Linked DNA regions of Homo sapiens: region 1 is linked to region 2. The links are contacts of gene promoters, found by promoter capture Hi-C in blood cells and fetal thymus (Javierre and others, 2016). All regions are on one chromosome and are shown on one strand. Each heading gives the region's core, a stretch centred on a gene start or on the middle of the fragment in contact. The rest is flanking DNA. Distances are from core to core; before and after follow the strand shown.

What was found. The method cuts DNA at HindIII sites, captures the fragments that hold promoters and counts their contacts. A CHiCAGO score of 5 or more calls a contact.
Region 1: a contact is called between a fragment that was not itself captured here and the fragment with the promoter of ANXA9 in region 2, in 1 of 17 cell types (neutrophils). The highest score is 5.7, in neutrophils.

Annotation. Positions count from the first base shown.
Region 1 is chr1:150,569,064-150,573,904 of GRCh38, forward strand. It overlaps ADAMTSL4-AS1 (ADAMTSL4 antisense RNA 1), which reads right to left. Exons shown (of 4, transcript NR_104133.1): 2 at 4,596-4,758. It also overlaps the pseudogene RN7SL600P. Among named protein-coding and RNA genes, the nearest start is that of ADAMTSL4-AS1, 3.1 kb to the right of the region's middle. The HindIII fragment of the contact is 1,546 bases long and covers 2,493-4,038 here.
Region 2 is chr1:150,979,338-150,984,130 of GRCh38, forward strand. ANXA9 (annexin A9) reads left to right here and starts at 2,955. Exons shown (of 14, transcript NM_003568.3): 1 at 2,955-3,042; 2 at 3,150-3,246; 3 at 3,753-3,843; 4 at 4,001-4,097; 5 at 4,638-4,732. The coding sequence starts at 3,769. It overlaps LOC105371438 (a long non-coding RNA gene), which reads right to left and starts at 2,168. Exons shown (of 3, transcript XR_922135.3): 1 at 2,084-2,168; 2 at 1,867-1,976; 3 at 621-749. RefSeq lists an enhancer at 3,479-4,340. The HindIII fragment of the contact is 18,662 bases long and covers 1,756-4,793 here.

The DNA of each region.
Region 1 (4,841 bases), core at 2,016-4,515, 410 kb before region 2:
CTCTATTTCCAACCTAGGCAGGTTCACCCCTACTTGGGCAACCTGATGGTCCCCCACTCCCAGGAAGTCACCATATTGATGCAGAACTTAGCGTGAACACCAGATCAACGTAGCACACTATAGCCCTGAACTCCGGGGCTCAAGTGATTCTTCTGCCTTAGCCTCCAGAATATCTGGGACTATAGGTACGTACAACTGTGCCTGGCCAAATTTTTTTTTTTTTTTTTTTTGAGATGGAGTCTCGCTCTGTCACCCAGGCTGGAGTGCAGTGGCGTGATCATGACTCACTGCAGCCTCTGCCTCCCGGGTTCAAGTGATTCTGGTGCCTCAGCCTCCCGAGTAGCTGGGACTACAGGAATAAGCCACCACGCCCAGCTAATTTTTTTGTATTTTTAGTAGAGATGGGGTTTCGCCATGTTGGCCAGGCTATCCTCGAACTCCTGACCTCAGGTGATCTGCTTGCCTCGGCCTCCCAAAGTGCTGGGATTACAGGCATGAGCCGCCACGCCTGGCTCTAATATTTTTATATAAGGCCTGAGATGGGAAAAACTGAAGTCATACAGTATTCACTGACCAAGAGCGGCGAGCAGAGAAAGAAGGCAGGGAAGGAAGATGGAATAAGAAAATTACCTACACAGTCCATCCCTGCTTCTCCCATCTCCATACACCCAGAGGGTCTTTCCCAATTCCATGCTTTGGTACGTGTTTCTTACTCATCTTTTTTTTTGAGTCTCGTTCTGTTGCCCAGGCTGGAGTGCAGTGGCATGATCTCGGATCACTGCAGCCTCCACCTCCCGGGCTCAAGTGATTCTCCGGCCTCAGCCCCCCAAGAAGCTAGGATTACAGGTGTGCACCATCACGCTCATCAAATTTTTGTGTTTTTAGTAGAGATGGGGTTTTACCATGTTGGCCACACTGGTGACCTCGGGTGATCTACCCACCTCAGCCTCTCCAAGTGCTGGGATTACAGGTATGAGCCACCGTGCCCAGCCTCGTTACTCATGTTTTAAGGTCCAACCTCACATTTCTTATGAAGCCTTCTTTACCACCCTCTACGTCTAGAAGTTGTCACCCTGCTTTTTCCCAACCCTACAATGCTTTGTACAGTGCCTTCTAATTATTTCTGTCCATGTCTATGACTCTTACTAGATTGTAAACTTTGTGTGTGTGTGTGTTTCTTTTTTTGTTAAGATAGGGTCTCACTCTGTTGCCTGGGCTGGAGTGCAGTGGCACAATTTCAGCTCACTGCAACCTCGACTTCGTAAGCTCAAGCGTTTCTCCCACCTCAGCCTCCCCAGTGGCTGGGACCACAGGCACGTGCTACTATGCCAAGCTAATTTTTTTTATGTTTTATAGAGATGGAGTTTCACCATATTGCCTGGGCTGGTCTCAAACTCCTGGGTTTAAGCAATCTGCCTGCCTTAGCCTCCCAAAGTGCTGGGATTACAGGCATGAGCCACTGCACCCAGCTAGATCACAAACTTTAACATCTAGCCACATTTGCATTCTCATTATGGGATTCGTTATGCATAAATTCTTTAGCATGCATCTCCTAAAAACAAGGTATAATACTCAAGAAATTTAACATCGATACAGTAGTAACATACAATCCATAAATTTCCGCAAATGTCCCCATGTCCTTTATAGCTTTTTGACATGTGTAGTTAGTTGTCATGTTTCTTTTGAACTATTCCCCAATCTTTTTTTGAGTTTCTTTTTTTTTTCTTTTTTTTTGAGACAGAGTCTTGCTCTGTCTCCCAGGCTGGAGTGCAGGGGCCCAATCTCAGCTCACTGCAACCTCGGCCTCCCGGGTTTAAGCAATTCTTCTGCCTCAGCCTCCCAAGTAGCTGGGACTACAGGAGTCCACCACCACACCTGGCTAATTTTTATATTTTTACTAGAGACGGAGCTTCACCATATTGGCCAGGCGGGCCTTGAACTCCTGACATTGTGATCCGCCCGCCTTGGCCTCCCAAAGTGCTGGGATTACAGGCGTGAGCCACCGCACCCGGCCTCTTTTTTTGAGTTTCTTAAGGGGAAGAATGATCTCTTTATAATTCCATTATCTAACAGTTCATGATACATAATAAGCAGTCTACTGTCATGTAATGGAAAAATGAAGACACTCTCAACATCTGGCTGCCTAGAGCTCCTGCTAAATAGACAAGCCTGGGCAATATAGCAAGACCCCATCTCTATGAACAAAACAAAACAAAACACAAGGCATGGTGAGGTACCTGTAGTACCAGCTACTTTGGAGGTTGAGGTGGGAGTATTGCTTGAGCACAGGAGTTCAAGGTTGCAGTGAACCGTGATAGTCCCACTGCACTGCAGCCTGGGCAATAGAGTGAGACCCCACCTCTTAAAAAAAAAAAAATCCTAACTTACCTCAATGTTGAAGATTTCTCATTTCCCAATGGAAAATAACTATTATTCTATGCAGGTCAAGAAGGGAACTGCAAATTAGAAACCAAGTATAGTGTGGGAACAAAAGCTTGCTACGTATATCCTTTTTCTACTTCCCAAGAATTATTAGTAAAGGACACCAAATTTTCGGAGGTGTTTTTTTTTGAGATGGAGTCTCGCTCTGTCGCCAGGCTGGAGTGCAGTGGTGTGATTTTGGCTCACTGCAATCTGGGACTACAGGCGCGTGACCCCATACCCAGCTAATTTTTGTATTTTTAGTAGAGACGGGGTTTCACCATGTTGGCCAAGCTGGTCTCAAATTCCTGACTTCGGGTGATCTGCCCGCCTTGGGCTCCCAAAGTGCTGGGATTACAGGCATAAGCCACCGCCCCTGGCCTTTTTTTTTTTTTTTTTGAGAGGAAGTCTCGCTCTGTCACCCAGACTGGAGTGCAGTGGCATGATCTTGGCTCACTGCAACCTCCACCTCCTGGGTTCAAGCAATTCTCCTGCCTCAGCCTCCTGAATAGCTGGGACTACTAGTGCCCGCCACCAGTAGTGGCGTTTAACCGTGTTGGCCAGGCTGGTCTCAAACTTCTGTCCTCAAGTGATCAGCCCGCCTTGGCCTCCCAAAGTGCTGGGATTACAGGCGTGAGCCACCTCACTAGAGAGGTATTTATTTTGTTTGAGACAGAGTCTCACACTGTCACCTGGGCTTAAGTGCAGTGGCACGATCTCGGCTCACTGCAACCTCCACCTCCGGGGTTCCTCCCAGGTTCACGTGGTTCTCCTGCCTCAGCCTCCCAAGTAGCTGGGATTACAGGCGCCCGCCACCATGCCCAGTTAATTTTTTTTATTTTTAGTAGAGATGGGGTTTCACTGTATTGGCCAGACTGGCCTCAAACTCCTGACCTCATGATCCCTCCACCTTGGCCTCCCAAAGTGCTGGGATTACAGGTGTGAGTCACCGTGCCTTTTTTTTTTTTTTTTTTTTGAGACAGCGTCTGGCTCTGTCGCCCAGGCCCCGGAGTGCAATGGCATGATCTCAGCTCACTGCAACCTCCGCCTCCCGGGTTCGAGCGATTCTCCTGCCTCAGCCTCCCAAAGTGCTGGGATTACAGGCCTGAGCCACAGCGCCCGACCCGGAGAGCTGTTTCTTAATCTGCCTGGAGGAAAATCCCCAGCCCCCAACTTTCCACATACTTCACATAGATAACACTGTAACAACTTTGAAACTAAGAGGGAGAGAATTAAGTTTTCAAATTTGAAATTGAGAAGCCTTTGAAGAGTGGCAGCGTTCTAGAAAGTTCCATGATTGAACAAGTGAAGCAAAAAACTAGGATAGACTCAACTGACCATCTGAACTCCAGGAATTAATAGCCAGTGCTTTGGGCATCTGGCTGGAGCCATGGTACGCACCAGTTGTACAAGTTATTTCATTTTAATTTTGTAAAAAAAAAAAAAAAAATCCTTCGGCTGTCACAACTGTTTTAAATAAAAATTTTGTGAAAAAACAGTATGAAGACGTTGCTCTAGATACAGAACAGGAACTGAGAAAGTCTGGTTGTGTCAAATAAAGCAAAGTGTTGATAATTCTGACTACTGATTAAGGTTACCCAGTTACTATTAAATCCAAGCTTTTAAGGTGCTGAGCAAAGGAACACTGTACCAGAAACGGCTTCACATCATAGCACGTCAATGGGAGCAATAGCACTAACTTAACTCAGGCCAAGACTTGGGCTTGGGTCCTCTGTGGCTGCTACTCTCCTACCACACCTTTGCTTGGGAGTGCACTTACACAGCTTTCTTTGTAATGATACAAAAAGTTGCTGCCTTTTGGTAGTTAGGCTCCAGAAAGGGGCTTCCAAACCAAAATGCACTTTTAAATAGAAATGCAACTGACTGCAGGGAGGCACAGAATCCTGATTGCCTGATTAGCATATGGTGCTCAGGGCTTAAAACCAAGTATGCAAACCTCACATTTGCACATTTCCATGGTGATTCAGCTCACTTTCAAGGTAGCTGAAAATAAAAGCAGGATAGGGGTTTTTGAAATTGACTGGCTTCTTTTTACCTCCTTTTGGAAAGCAGAAGGGGAAAAGCACTGCTGCCAAGAACTTCATCAAAACTCTTTAACTTTAGGTATTATTTAGGTGTTATGATAGAGTAACTGCTGTACAGTACCCTCTTACCTCAAGATCAAGGCTGGGCGCAGTGGCTCAGGTCTGTAATCGCAGCACTTCGGCTGAGGCGAGTGGATCACTGAGGTCAGGACTTCAAGACCAGCCTGACCAACACGGCAAAACCCCGTCTCTACCAAAAATAGAAAAATTAGCCGGGCATGGTGGCGGGCACCTGTAATCCCAGCTACTCGGGAGGCTGAGGTTGCAGTGAGCCGAGATTGCCCCACTGCACTCTAGCCTGGGCAAAAGAGTGAG
Region 2 (4,793 bases), core at 1,705-4,204:
CTGGGCAGGTAGCCAGAAGAAACTCTGAAGGGTACAGAAAGCCGAGGGCCAGGGGGACCCCGGCTGCGGAGCTGCAGTACCGTGTTTACCCAGCCTAACTGCGGTCACCCAGTCTCCTGCATGTGTCTGAGGTCAGCCTCGGGGGCTCCCCTGAGTAGGTATCTACCTGAGGCTCTTCCCCTGATGCTACCTGCATACCAATTCCACCCAGGAACCTGGCGTCCTCAGGAGGCTGCACTTCCCAAGTGGGCTGAGACAGCCCCTTAATATGTGGGGCTGGAGCCAGAGACCTCAAGGGGCCACTAGGGGGCTCGAGACTCTCAGTGGCTGCTGACGCCCTCTTGTGGCCATTTTGGGGATTGGCCAGAAAAGTTTCAGAAGCGAGCCAAGATCGGAATTCTTAAGGAGGTAAGTAATAACAACAGTAACAGTTACCATATAACAATACTTATCGTTATATATTTGATAACATTGTGACATTTCTACTTAACAGCGCTGTGCCCAGAACTCTTCTAAGTGCTTTATATGCACTGTAGTTATTTAATTCTCACAACAACCTATAACATAAACACTATTACTTGTCTGTTGATGATGAGGAAACTGAGCACAGAATAGTTGCCCAAGGTCACACAGAAGACCAGAATCCCGACTCTGAGAAGTCTGGCTCCAGAAGCTTTGCTTTTAGCCACCACGCTGAGACTGAGTTCCATTTTGGGGTTGTCAGGTGAAATACAGGACACACTGTTAAACTATAATTTCAGATAAACAAAAAATAATAATTACAGGCGGTGGCTCACGCCTGTAATCCCAGCACTTTGGGAGTCCAAGGCAGGTGGATCACGAGGTCAGGAGTTCGAGACCAGCCTGGCCAACATGGTGAAACCCTATCTCTACTAAGAATACAAAAAATTAGCCAGGCATGATGGCAGGCGCCTATAATCCCAGCTACTCGGGAGGCGGAGGCAGGAGAATCGCTTGAACCCGGGAGGTGGAGCTTGCAGTGAGCCAACATAATGCCACTGCACTCCAGCCTGGGCAACAGAGAGAGACTCCGCCTCAAAAAAAAAAATGTTAGTATATTTAATGAAATATTTGGGTCATACTTGTACCAACAAATGATTCCTCATTTACGTGAAATTCTGATTAAGCTGCATGTCCTGTATATTTATTTATTTAATCTAATACCCCTACTTTACAGGGCACTTTTCTCTGCCACATGCAATTACACAGATTACTTTTTTTTTTTTTTTTTTTTTTTGAGACGGAGTCTCACTCTGTCGCCCAGGCTGTGGAGTGCAGTGGCGCCATCTCAGCTCACTGCAACCTCTGCCTCCCAGGTTCAAGTGATTCTCCTGCCTCAGCCTCCCGAGTAGCTGGGATTACAGGCATGCGCCGCCATGCCCGGCTAATTTTTTGTATTTTTAGTAGAGACGGGGTTTCACTGTGTAAGCCAAGGCTGGTCTCGATCTCCTGCCTCATGATCCACCCGCCTCGGCCTCACAAAGTGCTGGGATTACAGGCATGAGCCACCGTGCCTGGCCACATTACCTTATTTATTTATTTATTTATTTATTTATTTTTATGAGTTCAATAGTTTTTGGGGACAAGGTGGTGTTTGGTTACATGGATAAGTTCTTTAGTGGACACATTACTTCATTTAATCATCCCAGGAAACCTGTCCTCGGAGGCCCCAGCATGTCCCACAGCCTCCGTCTCTCTCAATCCTCCCATTTAGAGAGCTGAAAGGACTAGCGAAGCTTACAGAACATAGGTGGCAGAGCTGGATATTGAACCCTCATTCTCCAGTTCTGACACAGGTGCATGTTTTCCTTTTAACAGGAGAGAAAAGTGAGGAGCAGTGATTACCGCCACAGAAATATCCTTTCATGGCGTGTCCTCCGGCATGGTCTACTCAGTGTGGTGGAGCCACTGCAGGTCCCTCCTCCAGGGATGTAGGAATGCCAGTGAAGGCCTTCCTGAGTTGGGAGAGAGGCAGAGGAGTGAGTGGAGGCAGGGCTGTAGCTTCTGTGCCCCGCCCCTACCCAGGCTCTCCAGGGAGGCAGGAAAGAGGCTGTGTTTAGACCTGAGGGAGCCAGCTGTGAGGCTGGAGCAGTTGCTGCATGGCGGGGCGGGGGCTCCACAGGGCTGTTCACCTGCTGCTCTGTGCAGAGACAGCCTCAAGTCCAGCTGCTGGGGTTGCATCACCTGCAGCTAAAACAGCCACAGGGCCCAGGCTGCCAAAAGGCAACAGAAGCAATCTAAGAAACCAGGCAAGGGAGCCTCCCCCATCTCCCTGTTGCCTTTTGGGAGCATAGAGCTTCCCTCTGAAGGTAACACCCTTTGCATTTTTCTCTCTTGACTCTGTTCATCAACTTCCACTCCCAAATACTTGTGCCCTTCCTTCTCCACAGATATACACAATCCCTGGGCACTCTCCACCTAGGTCAGCTGGCTCTAGTAAGGCAGCAGTCAAGGGAGTTTCTGGGCTGGGACCCCCTCTGGGGTGCAGGCTGGGGTGCCCTGCTGGTATGTGCCCCAACAGGTTTTTCCCTATCAGCCTTGAAATCAGCCTGCAGCCTGTCTGACCTGCCCCCCAGGGAGCTGGAGCCAGAGGCAGAGCCAGGTCAGAAGCTGGGGCAGAGCCAGGTCAGAAGCTGGACTTTGAGACTAGGTCTCTGTGGTCCCACCTGGACCCACAGGGAAGGCAGTGCATAAAAGCCTCCTGTGTTTGAGGCTGAGCCGCTGAGAGGCTGAGTGGAGTTCACTCACATGGATTGAGGCCCAGTTCCTGGGAGAAGAGATGCTGGGCAGGAAGGTGTCTGCATGTGGGACTCTGTACAGCCCGGTCCTCTCCCACGTCTGGGAGGGGCCAGAGTCAGACAACTGCTGGGTTCGTCCCTAAGAGAGGTCATCTGACTGGCTGTTCAGCCTAGGCTGCACACACCCCCACTTTCCTCTACCAGGCCACACCGGAGGCAGTGCTCACACAGGCAAGCTACCAGGCCACAACAACGACACCCACCTCACCTCTGGCACCTCTGAGTAAGTACTGGGCCCACGGCCCCATGCCAGGAGGGCTTGTTGATTGCTTGGGGGAGGGAAAAATGAGTTTTCCTTTTCCAACATGAGAGTGCCTCCTTTCTGTCCAGGCATCCACGTACTTGCAAGAACTCTTGCTCACATCAGCTAAGAGATTGCACCTGCTGACCTAGAGATTCCGGCCTGTGCTCCTGTGCTGCTGAGCAGGTAGGCAGCTGTACAGGCAGGAATTGAGGGTTGCTTGTCAGCTGGGGCTGCCGGTGGGGGAAGATGCTATTTCGAGTTGTCTTCCACTCTGCGTGGTTAATCCTGCCACCTCACCTCAGCTCCCCTGCACTGCCCAGGAGACCCCAGCCAGGCCCAGGAAGGAGGGCCATAGACCTCAGAAGGGAGGCATCTACCGCGGACCAAGGCCTGAGGAGCTTTGGTGCTGACCCTGGCATCAGGGAGGGTTGGCGCCTGGTCCAGGAGCATTCCGCATCAATCCCCACTTCCTAAAGGAGTGGGGAGAGGTGGGGAAGGTGGGGGCTCCCCTCTTACCTCACCATTTCAGCTCCATTTCTGGCTCCAAGCCTAAGCAGGTTGATCTTTTTTTCTGCAGCAAGGAAAGGAACAGGTGACTGGAACCCAGGGTCCAGGGTCTCGGGGGGGTCATAAGGAGTCCCTGAAGGGCCAGGAAATTCAGCTCTGTGGGCTCCTGTTTCCTTCCCCAGGGCAACCAGTAGCACCATGTCTGTGACTGGCGGGAAGATGGCACCGTCCCTCACCCAGGAGATCCTCAGCCACCTGGGCCTGGCCAGCAAGGTAGGGGCTGTTGGGATTTTAGAGATCACTTTTAGTATCTCAGCTCGGGCTGTGAGAGGATGGGAGGCAGGAAAGTGGAGGACAGGCCCTGAGGTTATGCTGAGGAGGTGTAGGCAGCCTGGCCCTGGCCCTTGCCAACTACCCTGTGCTCCCACAGACTGCAGCGTGGGGGACCCTGGGCACCCTCAGGACCTTCTTGAACTTCAGCGTGGACAAGGATGCGCAGAGGCTACTGAGGGCCATTACTGGCCAAGGTGAGCCCCTTTCCCCCGGCACTTGAGACTGCCTTTTAGAGCCAATCTGTAGACCAAGGAGGAGCCAGGAAGGAGGAACTAGTGATGTTGGAGAAATGTTTGTGGAATGCCTTCATTCTTGTATGTCAGGCGCCACAGTAGGTGTGTCAAACCCATTCTCACAACACCCCTGTGAGGCAAGGCTTATTATTTCCATTTTCCAGATGAGGAAACTGGGGCTCAGGGAGATTAAGAGGCTTGCCCAAGGTCACTCAGCTCATGACGGAGGTGGTATTCTCATCTAGGTCAGCCGATCCCCCCAAGTCGTATTTTTTTTTAACCACCACACCAGGCCACCTTTGCCTTGGTCTGGGTCAGATTTGCATGCTGTTTTGACATTTTATTTGCAACTTCTTTTGAGATAAAATGGAAGTGGGGGTGATATAGCCCCTGCTCCTTTCCTTCCCAGCCCTCTCCTGGAGCGCCTTCCCTCCTCCAAGGAGTAGGAACATCCCACTATGTAAAGACCCTGCTCACAGCACAGCCCTCATCTCGGTTCAGGCGTGGACCGCAGTGCCATTGTGGACGTGCTGACCAACCGGAGCAGAGAGCAAAGGCAGCTCATCTCACGAAACTTCCAGGAGCGCACCCAACAGGTGAGGCCATGCTGACCTCCCACAGCAGTGGACTGGGGTGAGAAACCCCCTGGAGGACTCG